Linked DNA regions of Homo sapiens: all the other regions are linked to region 3. The links are contacts of gene promoters, found by promoter capture Hi-C in human tissues and cell types (Jung and others, 2019). All regions are on one chromosome and are shown on one strand. Each heading gives the region's core, a stretch centred on a gene start or on the middle of the fragment in contact. The rest is flanking DNA. Distances are from core to core; before and after follow the strand shown.

Evidence for each region. Contacts are between HindIII fragments. The study calls those that stand out against the background at their distance.
Region 1: a fragment that was not itself captured here is called in contact with the fragment with the promoter of SHC4 in region 3 in 1 of the 25 tissues and cell types used here (adrenal gland).
Region 2: a contact is called between a fragment that was not itself captured here and the fragment with the promoter of SHC4 in region 3, in 1 of the 25 tissues and cell types used here (H1 embryonic stem cells).

The regions. Positions count from the first base shown.
Region 1 is chr15:49,129,763-49,132,886 of GRCh38, forward strand. COPS2 (COP9 signalosome subunit 2) reads right to left here. Exons shown (of 13, transcript NM_004236.4): 10 at 957-1,054. Among named protein-coding and RNA genes, the nearest start is that of COPS2, 24 kb to the right of the region's middle. The HindIII fragment of the contact is 6,490 bases long and covers 1-3,124 here.
Region 2 is chr15:48,823,465-48,826,205 of GRCh38, forward strand. SHC4 (SHC adaptor protein 4) reads right to left here. Exons shown (of 12, transcript NM_203349.4): 12 at 277-2,662. The coding sequence ends at 2,507. Among named protein-coding and RNA genes, the nearest start is that of CEP152, 14 kb to the left of the region's middle. The HindIII fragment of the contact is 4,959 bases long and covers 1-2,741 here.
Region 3 is chr15:48,962,501-48,965,200 of GRCh38, forward strand. SHC4 (SHC adaptor protein 4) reads right to left here and starts at 1,419. Exons shown (of 12, transcript NM_203349.4): 1 at 1-1,419. The coding sequence starts at 515. RefSeq lists enhancers at 1-395, 396-897. The HindIII fragment of the contact is 15,905 bases long and covers 1-2,700 here.

The DNA.
Region 1 (3,124 bases), core at 382-2,881, 170 kb after region 3:
CCTTGATTTTGTTGACATTGAGACTCTACTAAAATATTATTTTGCCTTCTCAATATTACACTACTTATCATTTCCTCAACAGTTAATATCTTTAAAGAAGCTCTGATTTATACCAGCCAGCCAAGTTCCTTGTTTTAGACTCTCTCAAAACCTAGAGTACTATATTTTATATAATGCTTTTACAATTTCCTCCAGTTTTGTCTGTACAATAGTTCTTAAAATTTTTTAAAACCAGGTTGAAATTCATGTACAAAGATTCTACGTTTTTCTATATCTATAAACTGCAGTATCATTCCAGGTTCATGTAAGAACTTTTAAAATGTCTGTTGATTAAAAGAGAAAGAAAGATGGGGAACAGAACATTACTTCTGATGCATCTGAAATTTAGTTCCAAATGGTCATTTAAAAACCTTCAAATAGCTCCATAATAGGTGGGAAAATCGGAGCTATAAAAGAAGTCCAAGAGCAAAGAGATGATTGTAGTCTTTGGTAATTCAATATAACTTGCTAAAAACCTCATTCACTTACTGGTATGAAACCTTCACAGTGTTGCCTTATCTTTCATAGTACATATATCTTAGCATTATCTATAGCAGGATATTTTCATAACTTTTGTTATTTGTCAAAAATAAACCTTAAAAATTAACTTTGAACCTAAGCATCAATAATAAACATGCAACAGCATCTATATTAGATTTTTTTAAAAAGGGACAGTTACCTTAAACAAAATGGACATTATATATAAACTTGACTATAGTAATATGAAATTGGTCAATTTCTTTAAAAGAGCTTCATAATTTTAAGGAATATCCCATCCAATGACAGCATTTAGAAACATATCTATACTTTGCAATAGACAGAAAGAAAACAGCTTAATGCCATGCAGCTTCATTAAGTGGCATTTCTTTGACAGTGGCAAAGAAAGTAATAGAATCCAGTTGGCAGAAAGAACATACCTTCAATGTGTTCTCTTATGAAAGGATCATCCATGATGTTGCTGTGATTTGTTTTTAGAATCTTTTCAAATTCAGTGATGTCATTATTCTGATAGGCACTAATAGAAAAACAAAGTGTAAATTATGTCAAACATGAAGAAGTTATGTATTAAATCAGATAATCCAAAGACCCTGCTTCTCAACTTTCATATGCAAAAATCTAAATAATATTATACTTTCTGTCATGGAAATCACAGTTAAACAAGCACACATAACCTTCTGCCAAAAAAAACATAAATTTCCTTTTCATGCTTTTGGTTTTTTAAAAGAAAGATTAAATAAATCTTCTTTTGGGGTTATATACTATATTTATACAAAGTTAATTAAAATCACCTCAATATCTTACTTCTCTTAAAAGTTGGCAATAAAACATTTAACAACTATTTAATGTTTGATGTTTTCAAATGAAATTGTGCATTTAATTCCTAATTGTTCATAATGAAAGGAACCAGGCTTCATGTACACTACATGAAGGGGTGTAGCCTCGTCTTTCAAATGAGAAAGCATATCCTCTGTGTAGGTTATTCAGAAAATGCAGCTTCTTAATTTTTATATTCTAGAAAGCTACCAGCAACTGTGAAAATTTTCAAAAGGAACATTTCTCAATCCCCTGTTGCAGAAGGCCAAAGACTGATTTATATTCATAATTCTCTGAGGTATCTAGTATCTCCTCTTGAAATAATTCTGTAAAGCTCTATGGGAATTGCTAAAGGTGCTGAGAAGGAAGAATCCAACCTTGTGGATATGGCACCATTGTCTGCTTTATACGTAAGACATTATCATCAGCTATACTGCACGCCCTCTGCTAGTGCTTCCATCTGTTGGGTCCCAATGTAACCTCATATTAGGGGCACGTGATTCAAGTGCTTTGACAGGAATTATTTTCCTCTAGTCTCCTGGCAACTGACTAGGAAGACAAAATTAGGAAGCATTACTTTCTTACCTACCCCAAATACACTGCTGTAATATACTATAGGAGGACATATTCAAGCATTGAAAACACTTGCACAAACATTTGTTTTATATTTGTGTACATACATATTTTAACCGTAAGACATTCTTCCATTTCTTAAGTGGGGTTTCAAAAAAAACATCTTATACAAAATTGTGGGACACCATGCATCACATCATGTGGGTCAAAATTTACCATTAAAATAAGTTTTGAGTTCTAATACAGTGGCTTTGCTGGAGTAGTTGGATATAATAAATTTATAAATGTCATTATATATTCTGATATAGGTCAGATAAAGGTCTGACAAATCAGTCCTTTAACCAATTTTAATGTACTTAGCCAATTTAATTTATACAAAATATCAATGTCTAGGGTAAAGCTTTTCCTCAATATTTCTTAGAGTTTTAAAAGTGTAAACTGCTGCTTAGCAATTTAACATTATAAACAACTTTGGTTCTTAGTTAATGTGACCAAATGTGAATGAAATAAACTATCTGAAATAAAGATGACGTTTCCTTTAATAATGAAAAGCAACCTAATTCAACAAATAAATTAAAATAAAGTAAACAATAAAGAAACTGATTTAATGTGGTAACTTAAGGTTTTTAATTCCAAACTGTTCTTAGTCCCCCTAAAAAAAAACGCTTTTTTTTTTACAGCCAAAATTAAGGTTTCTTTAAAAAAAGTTAAATGAGGACATTTTACACAGGAACTTTAATATCATGAAATAAGCTATCTTCTCCAAGTATACACAATTTATATGTAGGTGACCCATAATGTACAGTCTAATAGTGTTTTCTGTTAAATGAAAAAGTACTATAAATAGAACTTCTGGTCACCTAAATTATTTACATATATCTGCAAAAAAAAAAAAAAAAAAAAAAGCCCTGCTTCATGTCCCTAACTACATTTTTCCAGCTGTGGTAAAACTCAGCTGTACAACTTAAAATAAAAGACTTGAAGAAATTTAGTAAATTTCTTATACTTTTTTAATGAATAAAACCCACAAAAACCCTGGGTTCCATTTATTCTATGCCTGGAGGAAAGTTTCTCTTACTCACTAATTCCTTTTGCAAAAATGGGCCTTTTCTTCTAGGTTTTTTGTTTGGTCTTATCTTCCATAATTTTGTCGAATATTAATTGACTATGGTAGGTTCTTCAGTGGTTAACCATCATT
Region 2 (2,741 bases), core at 72-2,571, 140 kb before region 3:
GCATTCCTCCACTACAGGCCACAGCTCCTAAAAGGCAGCCCTTGCACACAGCTCCCTCTCCAGATTCTGTTAGCTGTTCTTTCCCTTTCTCCCTTAATTGGCCCCAAGGCACTGCATTCTCCCTCCTGATTTCCCTAAACTCTGCCCACACCTTTGTAAATAGTCCCTTTAATAAACTCACCTTGAATTATCCAGTTTGATTGAGCCAATGTGTTTCCCTGATACATTTTACAAATGACAGTTTCCAAATCCCAAACATCAGACATATTCTGTCAATTGTCACAAAGCAATAATCATTTATTTTTTAAAGTCGTTTACAGGTATTTATAGGCAAATGGATTTCCACTTTAAGACAGATAAAGAATGTGAGATTAAAATAGCATGCAGACATTCCTTTTATTGTTTCCTTTTGCTTTAACTGTGTCTGTGGTATTTTTAAGTGCTGTATTTAACTACTATACTATTACAGTCAAATACTGATTATCCATGTGTACTGCTGACACCATTTACAGTCATTGCATCTATTTGTATCAGGAACTCTTGCTACCAAGTTAATACTCTGCTCAGCTAGAGTGAGACCACAGCCCTGCTCTGTCTCTGATAAAAGTGGTTAGACTACCCATACATTTCTACTGTCTATACTCATGCTGATCCCCTTTTTAAGGACAAACGATCAAGACCTAAGGTATATGGAAAACTGGTGAAAAATACATTAATTCTAGTTGTGTAAGAGGAAACAAATCCATCTAAAAAATTAATGGCAGTAGAAATAAAAATCATAAGCCTTTACAGTAAAATATTAGAGTGCAGTATGCTTGGTTTCTAATGATTTCTATCCAAAAGAAGTTTTATTTAAAACTTAGCAAATATATCACAATCACAAAGACTAAGTTGTATCTACATAGCCAAAATGAAATGGAGTCAAGGCAATATCCAGATAACTCAAGATTAAAAAAAAAAACAAAAAACATTTTTCTTGGAAAGGCAAGAAAAGGACATAAGTAGTTTTCTGCTACTCAAACCAAATCCACTTTTATCATCATTCCCTATATTCCAAAGTTTCAGTATTTTAGACTGAATGGTTTGGAGTCTAAACTATGTGAATGTTGATCTCAGGTGTGCCATTCATTCTGTGAGTATGGACACAGACTATAGAAGAAAAGCTTAATTTTTTACCTTAACTATACAGACTGGTTATCAATAACGACCTCTAACAAATGAAAAACTTGCTTTTTAGAGACTCATACTATAAGTTAGGACTGAAGTAGTCCTCCAAATTCACCTAGCCCATTTAGCTCATTTTATTGCCAAGGAAACTGGAACCCAAACAGATTCAGCAACTTGCTGAAGGTCACACTGGTAAGACTCAGCGTAATGCTTTTCTGTACACCATGCTTAATCACTCTGTTAGTTTACCAGTTGGTCTACATGTGGAAAATCTTTCCAAGTGCTTCATTCAATATGTTTTTTTTTCCTTCTGCATTTTGTCTGATCATATCTATACGAGGTGCTAAGGATATATGTAGGTGAGAAACTATGATTCAGTGTCAGCCAATCAAGAAGAAATTTTACTATAATTTCAAATAGATTCTGTACTTTTACTAAGAATGAAACCAATTTGAATAGTAAATATGAAGAATACTGGTTTTGTTTGCCCTCTTTTAAATCCATGCACTCATGAGGTTTTTTTTGTTTTTTTTGTTTTTTGTTTTTTGTCTTTTTAGCAGGAAGAGGGGGAGAATATAATGAAATCAGAAATGACTGATAGATTTGGCTTCTTCAGCTTGTCACATGCTGTATTTAGACAGTCTGAATAGCAAACACTGAGAAATGCTAGGCCAGAGGATTTGGGCCCCAATCCTTTTAACCAGCAAATGGGACAGTCCAATGAAACAGACAGCCATGTTAGTGGCTTTTGATTTGATTCCACTGACATACACACAGTTCGAATTCAATGTCATATTTATTTTAACATTGCAGTGAAAAATGCTGCTAAACAGAAAATGTAATAAAGTCAATAAGGCTCAAGAAAATTGCTTATTTTTTGTAGCAAGAAAAGCTTTTTTTTTTGGCAAATGGTTCTATAGTCATAGAACATGAAGATACTTAGAATTAATCTCCCAATATGAAAATGTCCCCCAAATTATCAAGTTGAAAGGCACATACCACTGCCCCAGCAGTTCATTCAAGTTGTCGTTAGCATGTGAAATTTTAGTTGTGCTTTTAGCTTGTTATCAATGCAATATGGCCTTAAAAAGTGACATCCGTGCATACATATAATTTCTTTTAAAATGACCAACCCTCTTCCTCTTTTCTGATTTTCATTTCTGAAGACTAATTTTTGTTAGTTCTTCATTTTATAGAGGACCTGGTCCATGATGGTCTTGGAAAGATGCACTTCACAGTTTGTGCTCTATTTTATCTACAAACAAAGTTTAAATTATCTTTGTGTCCTAATACAAAATGGGGTTTCTTGAAATATCAGTGTGATGGTGCTTCAATACTGTCATTTGTTGGAATGCAAAAGTGCTGGATTATTATCTTTTCTCACTGGTTGTTTAAGGCTTACTTCGCTTCCAGAGGAGATGATTGGCAAACTGTTATCCATATGGTATCTGATAAGGTGGCCGACATTATCAAATACATGATCCTTGGTCCTCACCTTGAAAAAGAAGTACAAATATATTTAGGTTAAATTATAGTAGTTCTCCTGAAAGATATAAATAATAAGGGGGAAAATG
Region 3 (2,700 bases), core at 169-2,668:
GTTGGCTCCCCAGGGCCAGGAAGCGGGCACGAATCAGGGGTTAGGGCGGTTGCCCTGTGTCCCACCAGGTCCTGCTGCGGTGGAGGTGCAGTCCCGGACCTACTTAAACTGGTTTCTGGGGAAGAGGGGCCGCTGGAACCTGGGTCCCGGCTTTCCTGGAGCTTCAGCCGAGGCACCTCTTTGGTACCCAGGCAAAAGTTTTTCAGACTCAGCAAAGTGGCCGGGTTGGCCAGCTTCATGCTTGCCATGCGGGGGATCAAGGTGCACAGTGGGGTGGGGCTCTCCTGCGACGGCAAGGTGGCATCTTCAGTCGGCAGGTGAGGTGCCAGGGCGGGGTGGGGAGGCTGCGGCGAGCCCTTGTTCCCGACCGAGCCTCCGGAGCTACCTTCGTCCAAGGACGTGATCGACTCGTTCCGAAAGCGGCTGTACTTGGCCCTGTGCAGCATCCCGGGGTGCCCGAAGAGTCCTACATACAGCACGAGTCCTGCCAGGCTGTCCTGGCCGCGTTCTCGCATAGCCTTGGCAGTGCTGAAACAGGATACTGTTGCATAAATCGCCTCGTCGTCTGGTAGATAAACGGTGCAGACATCAGATACCTCAACGCCCGATGCAACTCACAGCAGCCACCTCTCCAACTCTGCTCTCGAGCTCGCCCACCTCGGCTCCCGGCCCCTTAAGGGTGACAGCCCATGGGGGAAACGCCTCCCCTGCTCTGATTTCAGTCTCTCCCTGGCCCAGGCAGAGGCACCAGTGTTCTCGCCTTGGAATCCTTGTCGGGAGAGCCTAGACCCAGGCTCCCGGCGGCGCGGGTCGCTCACGGCCAACTCTTAGGCGCAGAACCCGGGCGAGCGCCGGTCGGGGGGCCCGCTGCATCACTAGCCTTGCAGGAGCCTAGTAGAAATATTTAGCACCCGACTCCCACCCTCACCCCAGCCTTCTGTTCTGCACACAGGAACTTTCGAACCTGCTCCCTTCGGCTCTCACAGGGCGGGGCAAATGACTGGCCTATTAACCCTTTATTTGTTCCAGTGATTGTTCATTTAAAAAGGAAAAAAAAATGTATCTATGAACCAAAGGCCCTTTTGCCTGGGTTCGTTGATTCCAAAGGCTGCCCTCTCTTGGAAGATCTTGTCTTGCATCCCGTTCTGGGCCACCAGCCAGGAGTACTACTGACGGGCGCTGCTCCGCATTGTTTCACTGACTTGTGATGGGTCCGTGTTCCTCAGATCCCCTCCCAGCCTGCCTACCCTCGCTCAGAGCTTCCCTCCCTCCTGGATTCCTCTCGGAGCTTTTTTCAGAAGCCCATTTGCAGCCGAAAGCTGAGATGTGCAGGATGATACGCAGCGTGTTGAAATTTTTATGAATGAACTTTGCCGAATGAATTTCTCTGTGTGTGTGCAAGCTAATAAATCTGTGAATGAAGCTGAGAATAGCTGTAATTGACTGACGGTCTCAGAGGTGCTTGGTTTTTATCCAATCAGGAGGCAGCTTGATGACTCATACACCATAAATATACTAAACTAGTAGCCGAGAGAAATAAAGCTAGCGGGAGAGGAGGGACGTATTTTATTTTGTGGTATCTGATGAATGAGTTAAAAGGAAAGGCAATCTTTACTACAGATCATTAGCCGGGGAGCAGCAGGTTAAAAGATCTATTTTCTTTCTTGTTGAGATGGCCGGGAGGGCAGAGCAGAAGAGCTAAAAATTAGACCCATTGTTACAGGGATATTAGGACATATGGTTCACAACTCCTGTGGGAAGCCATGATGCATTTTTCTTAGAAACATAGTTCTTTTTTTATTGATTGTTGGTTCCATCTTCCGTCTGGTGCGACTTCCTGTACCTATCAAATGCATCCTGAAGACATGATGACAACTGCAAAGGCTTAGCACACAGGAAGCCAAAACCAGAGCTGGGAAAAGGAAATGCAGGTTCTTCAGGAATGGAGAAGAGGAAACTGCTGAAACACTGGGGGTGTGGGGTGTCGGGGTGGGGTGGAAATCACACATAGGAAGAGATAAAGAACTCTCAGAAAAGATTGCATTACTCCGTGTCTCAAGGCTTTGACATCTGAAATTGTTCATTAATTAAAAAATTAAGACAAACTGGCAACCAAAGGAATTAAGGGTGCCACCTTCATTATCTTATTGTCCCTAATGCTGGATTAGGCTTATGTATATTCATGACTTTGGGAGCCTGAGCTCCCTTGGGATCCAAACACAGGTTCTGAATTAAATGGTTGAGAGTGACCAGTGAAAGCGGCATCCTCCTCCCAAGCTCCCTGGTCCCCCAGGGAAATAAAGCACCCATCACATCCTGTCTGCCAAGCCTGTTCAGACATTTCTTTCCCTGGAAAGGCCTTTCTGCATCTTCATAAATCTTCCCTTCAATCCTTGTTGACCTCCTTTTCCCTGCCCTACATCTCCTCCTGGCAAAACTGAGGGAAGTAGCTAAATCAGTTGGACCCCACATCCCTGGGGCTGAGGAGACAGGCTCTGGGCAAGAATATTTACCTCTCATTCCTCCTCATTCCTCATCTGCTTTCTTCCTCTCATTTTTCCTGCCTTCCCCTGGGTCCCTGGGTCCCTGTGTTGCTTCTGTTATGCTATGATGACCTCATTATATGCTCCCTTTAGAAAGTTACTTTACCTCTCCGTGCCTGAATGTCCTCATATGTTGGCAGCAGCCATCTAATGGGGT